Linked DNA regions of Homo sapiens: region 2 is linked to region 1. Evidence: promoter capture Hi-C in 16 types of primary human blood cells and fetal thymus (Javierre and others, 2016). All regions are on one chromosome and are shown on one strand. The core of a region is centred on a gene start or on the middle of the fragment in contact, and the rest is flanking DNA. Distances in the headings are between cores, read along the strand shown.

The links. Contacts are between HindIII fragments. The CHiCAGO score rates a contact against its expected background, and 5 or more counts as called.
Region 2: a fragment that was not itself captured here is called in contact with the fragment with the promoter of PPP3CB in region 1 in 1 of 17 cell types (fetal thymus); the score reaches 10.0 in fetal thymus.

What each region holds. Positions count from the first base shown.
Region 1 is chr10:73,494,591-73,497,290 of GRCh38, reverse strand. It overlaps PPP3CB (protein phosphatase 3 catalytic subunit beta), which reads left to right and starts at 1,267. Exons shown (of 14, transcript NM_021132.4): 1 at 1,267-1,486. The coding sequence starts at 1,402. It overlaps PPP3CB-AS1 (PPP3CB antisense RNA 1), which reads right to left and starts at 1,539. Exons shown (of 5, transcript NR_132104.1): 1 at 1,474-1,539; 2 at 808-1,149. RefSeq lists enhancers at 1,061-1,250, 1,741-2,200 and a silencer at 1,331-1,680. The HindIII fragment of the contact is 5,148 bases long and covers 1-2,357 here.
Region 2 is chr10:73,809,123-73,811,922 of GRCh38, reverse strand. It overlaps NDST2 (N-deacetylase and N-sulfotransferase 2), which reads left to right and starts at 325. Exons shown (of 15, transcript NM_003635.4): 1 at 325-449; 2 at 1,020-1,124. It overlaps NDST2-ZSWIM8-AS1 (NDST2-ZSWIM8-AS1 readthrough), which reads left to right and starts at 103. Exons shown (of 18, transcript NR_182658.1): 1 at 103-449; 2 at 1,020-1,124. RefSeq lists silencers at 1-520, 821-890. The HindIII fragment of the contact is 756 bases long and covers 1,135-1,890 here.

The DNA.
Region 1 (2,700 bases), core at 18-2,517:
CTTCCTCCCCTCCTTAGGAAGATTTTCTGGGGATTCAAGCTCTTCTTACAGACTCACTCCTGATCAATGTACTCCAGGTGCCTTCCCTCTATCTTATAAGTTTGTGACGTGCCTCCTGTCCCTTCCTTCCTCTCCTTCCGTGGGGGCCTCTCCCTTTCCCTTCCCCTGTGGTGTTATGGCCCTTCCATGCCAGAAAGATCCATTTTCACCTGTGCCTCACTCCCGAGACTCTTCCCTCTAAAAAATAGCTTGTGGGTTCCCTTTTTGGAAAAAATCCATTGTTGGGTCTTTCCCTTCCTCTTTTCCTGGGGTCTCAGGATAGAAATTGACACAAAGAAGAGGTAGAAAGGTACTCCTTGGACCTTCGGACTACTACTTACTTACCACCATGCATTATGAACAGATTCTGAGCACATGTATTATTGAGCAGGAGGATGGGCAGGAATTGGTTGTTCCATCCCACTTGGATCCTGCACCATCAAGATATATAGAGCTTAGTGGATATGCTGGTCCCTGTCCATGATTCAACATATCTCCTGGTGTCGTGGACACACTCATCTAATAATTTTTGATGAACAGTCAGTTCTTGCCCCTCTACCCCCTTTCCCATGAGTGTCAGTCACCGTGGTCTCTATAAAGGTTCCATAAGTCACCTGGGCCCAGATTCTGTGCATGTGCAGAAATAAGGAATTAATTTCCAATTCCCTATTTACTCCTCTGCCTTCCAGGAGGAGGTTGTATCCTTTTCAGGTGAATTCTTCAGATTCTTTGCACATCTCTTGGTGTCATCCCCTTTATTCCCCTTACCTGTTTTGACAAACTATGGCGCCTAAATTGCTCTAGCTGCAGTCTTATTCTGTGCTTTCAGACTCTTGACAATTCCAGACTCTAAACACAAAGGCCAGAATTCTCTTTCAAACTCCATTTTGGATGGTCCCTTCTCCACTCTAGAACCTACAATGCTTCCTCTATTCTCTGGTCCCCTACCAACCCTTCAGTATTCAGATCTGGTAGCTAAATCGTTATACATTTCTCTATTAGTAGGAGATCCTGAGGTTTAATCACGTCTTCTCAGTTTACTGGGAATGCCATGAGAGCGGGTGTGTTTCCTCGCAGTCGTTCGATCGCAGCACCTCCTCATTCTTCATTCTGCATGCAAAGAATTTTAACCTGATCCCTTGGCCTCGTCCTGTTTCTCTCCTAGCTTCAGTAATTTTGCCCAAGTCCCTAGAGCCTACCCCGCCCCCACCCCCGCACGCGCAGTGCATGCCGGTCTTAGCCCCTCTGTAGGGAAAGAGGGTCCGCCATGTTCCCCGGCGGCGCCGCCGCTTGGCTCTGGTAGCCGCCGCCCCCGCCCCCAACCCCGCCCGGCCCAGAGCCTAGCCGAGCCCCGGGCCCAGCATGGCCGCCCCGGAGCCGGCCCGGGCTGCACCGCCCCCACCCCCGCCCCCGCCGCCCCCTCCCGGGGCTGACCGCGTCGTCAAAGGTGAGAGGTGGACGAAACCCTGGGGGCCTGGCCTGAAGAGCTAGCTGTGTGTGAGGGCGGGCGGGAGACCGTCCCCTCGGGAGTGGGCCCGGAAGGGCGGGCGAGTGACTGGCTGCCTCCCTTGGGGAGTGGCCCCTGGGCGGGCCCCTGCTGGGCAGGGCTGAGTCGGTGGCAGTGGTTCCGCGGTCTCCCGGTTGCTTTCAGGCCGGGGCGGAGGTTTTGCTTCCGTGGCTTCCTAGCCCAAGGGGTGAGGCTGTTAGCTGCAGTGAGCCCGTTTTCTCTTCACTCGGCCTGTCAAAGCGGCGCAGGGGCCGCGATTAGCTTCCTGCCCCGCGACAGCTGCACTTCTGGCTTGCCGGGGCGAACCGAGGGGCTCGGAGACCTTCAGCCACGCGAGGCCCGCCAGTGAGCAGTCAGAAATCACCTCGGCTTTGGCCCACGCCTGCTCCCCGGTGACAGTCGTCCGCCCTATCCGCGTCTAGCTGGCGACAACCGCAGGGGTTCACTTTTGGCCGTCAGGTGCCACCCGGAGCAGAAATTAGGGGAACCTTGTGGGATTGGATCACGGTGAAGGGTCGGGGCAGGAATTGGAAGGCCAGCCTTTATAGTGCAGAAAGGGAGAAAAAGCAGCATAAACGAAAAAAAAAATTCTTGTGGATAGCAAGTATTTACTTAGAAAACCATCAACACTTTGGTCAAAAGGAGTTACCCCTCCCTTACAAACACACACCCACACATTCATCCTAGACGAAAAAGTTAAATGTTTCTCAGCCAGGGCAGAATTTATGGATGTTTACCCACAACAGGTCAGCAGATTAATTTAAAATAGAGAAATTGAGGGCTAATTGAGAGTTGCTTAAGATTCCAAGCTTCCTGGGAGAGCCTACCAACCTCAAACACTGCTGTGGAGGTGAAAAACAATTGAAATGATTCTCTTTACCATGTAGCTTGATTGATAAATTGAAATCGTAGAATGAACTTTTCCTTATTTGTATTGTATTTATTTTTAAAATATAGGTACTTTTGTTTTCATTCAGCTTCTCAAATACACTGGCACAGTATTTAAACACCGTTAGCCTACTTTTTGAAATCTGACTCATATGTTTCCATTAAAATATTTAAAAACAAGGAAACCTTTTTTCTTTTTTTTTTTTAATTAAAAATTTTCAACCTGAGCCTTCTTCGGTTCTTAAAAGAATAATACTAATTTGGCC
Region 2 (2,800 bases), core at 263-2,762, 310 kb before region 1:
CCGAGTGGGCCGGCCCGGCTCCCCCTCCGCGGGGCTGAGTGGATGAGCCCAGGCCTGAGCCCGCCCCTGCTCCGAAGTCGTGGTCCCCGACGCTCGGCCGGCAGTGCCATCGCGCGGAGAGGAGGGGGTGCGCTTCCGCGGGCGGGGCGCGGAGCCCGCCGTCTCGGAGGCCGCGGCTCGGCCCGGCACTGCGGAGGGCCGCTTGATTTCCCGGAACCCAGGTCGCGCGGCTGCTAGGGCCGGAGCCGGTGGATCCGAGCGGGTGCCACCAGCGGCGGCGCGCCGCCTCCCCCGGTGGGAGCGGTGGTTGGGCCAGGCTGCGGCAGAGCGTTCGCTCGGAGATGGCGGAGCAGCCGCGACGCGGCCCGTGGCCCCGAAAGCAGGGAAGCCGGGCAGCCCCGGGACGCGGCGGAGCCCGGGGACAGCGGGGACGCCGCCCAGTCCTCCGGGTGAGCCGCCCCTGAGGAGACCCCCCCGCCCACGGTCGCGCTCAGGCCCCCCCAACAGACTCCCTTGGATGTTGCCACCATCACCACCCGCAGGGTCGTCCCGGGCGGCCCAGCGTGCGCCGCGCCCCGGGTCCTTTCCGCCGGCCTCCCTCAGAACCGCCTCGCTCCCCTCCGGACCGGGCGGGCTCCCTTCTTCCCGCAGGGCTCTCCCAGCCCAGAGGCTGTCTCGATGTCACCCCGGAGTCGCCGCCGCGCGCCTGTGGCCCCTTCCCCTTTGGTGTCCCACATCCGGTGCGCTCTTCGCATCCACCTGTGCCCCCGTCTCCTCTCGGCGGGGCCCCTCCACCCGCCAGCCCCGGGCCCCCTCGGCGCCCGCAGCCTCCGCGCCGCTGCTCCGGCCGTCCCGGCCTCCCCAAGCCCGGGCCCGGCCCCGGCCCCCGTCTGGCTTCGCCGTCCTCAGAGATCTCCCGCACACACCCACCCCGCCCAGCCCTGCTGGCCCTCAGTGTTCACTGGCCCGGCCTGCGGCGCTCCCGGCGCCCCTTCCCTAAACCTTGCTGCTTCTTCCAGGTATGAAGCTAAAATGCAGCGGCTAAGAACGCGGCTCTGGAGCTTGACAGGCCTGACGTCGAATCCCAGCCCTCCCACCAACTGAGCTGTGTGATCCTGGGCAAGGTTCTAAGCTTCTCTGAGTTACTCATATGTGAAATGGGGATAATGGAGCATGTACCTTTTCCCTACCTCTTAGGGCTGGTGTGAAGATTAAATATATGTGAAGCTCTTAGAAGAATGGCTGGCAAGTTGTAATTTCTCAAATACGGGATGATACACCCTGAGTATCAACTTCCCGTCAGTGACCTCCTCACTACAATGTTTTCTCTAAAGTTGCATCACATTCTTAGCATTCACCCCTTCCCGTCACCATTTTGATCCTCTCCCCCAGCTGTCTTCTCGTGTCGTTTTACCTAGGCCAAAGCTGAACTGTTTTATTTTTATTTTTATTTTTATTTTTTTTTGAGCTGGAGTCTAGCTCTGTCACCCAGGCTGGAGTACAGTGGCACAATCTCAGCTCACTGCAATTTCCGCCTCCCACGTTCAAGTGATTCTCCTGCCTCAGCCTCCTGAGTAGCTGGGACTACAGGCGCCCACCACCATGCCCATCTAATTTTTGTATTTTTAGTAGAGACGGGGCTTCACCATGTTGGCCAGGCTGGTCTCGAACTCCTGACCTCAAGTGATCACCCGCTTCGGCCTTTCACAGTGCTGGAATTACAGGCGTGAGGCACCACGCCTGTCCTGAACTGTTTTTAAATCATCTCTGTCAATTCTGAAGGACCTCAGCTCTGCCTTATCACCCCTGAGATGTGTGTTTGGGGGTGGGTGGTAGAGAGGGATTGCCAGCCTTACAAGGAGGCTGAGTGGGGATAGTGACAATAAAGCTTACAGAAGCAGTCGATTTAAGAAAAAGAACAGACTCAGGAGGCTGAGGCCGGAGGATTGTCTGTCTGACCCCAGGAGTTCAAGACCAGCCTGGGCAACGTAACAAGACCCCCATCTCTAAAAAAAATTAAAAATTAGTAGGGTGTGGTGGTGCAAAGCTGTAGTCCCAGCTACATGGGAGGCTGAGGTGGGAGGATCACTTGAGCCCAGGAGTTTGAAGCTGCAGTAGGCTATGATCACACTAGCACACTGTATCCTGGGTGACAGAGCAAGACTCCATCTAAAAATAATAAAAGAGATCCCCAAAATTAGACCTCCTTAAAACTGTTTTCTGATCACACTGTCCTTTTTCCTTCTGTCATTGGTTGGATGTGACTTAAGCTCCTGTTGCTCTCTGTCATCCAGTCCTTACTCAAGTTGTTCTGTTTGTGTAACTGGACTCAATACCTCATGTCTCTCCAGACTAGCTCAGGGACTCTTCTGAGCTGTTTAGGAATAGGGTTGTAGAACTACTTAGGCTAAGTTAGGAAGGAGAAGTAGAGTGGACTCAGCTGTATGGCTTTTCTCAGCACCCAGTGTGTGGCCTGCTCAGGGGTTACATTTTTATCTCCTGACTGGCAAAGTTGAGGTGAAGGTCAGGGGCAGGTAATGTTTCACAAGCAACGGGTAAGGGAGTCCCTAATTTCTGGGTTTGGAAACTGGTAGAATGATTACCTATCATGAGGATTGCTCTTTCCTTTTGAACTCCCCCACCATAGTGTCCACCTGACTGCAAGTTCGTTAAAGCTGTTGGCTGTGATATTGGGTTTGATTGATGAGAAGATTAACAGACTCATGAGTTCCTTATCTGATATTTTGTTGGAGCATGGGACTTCTGAAGACTTCCGGGGCTTTCCGTCCCTTCCTCACAG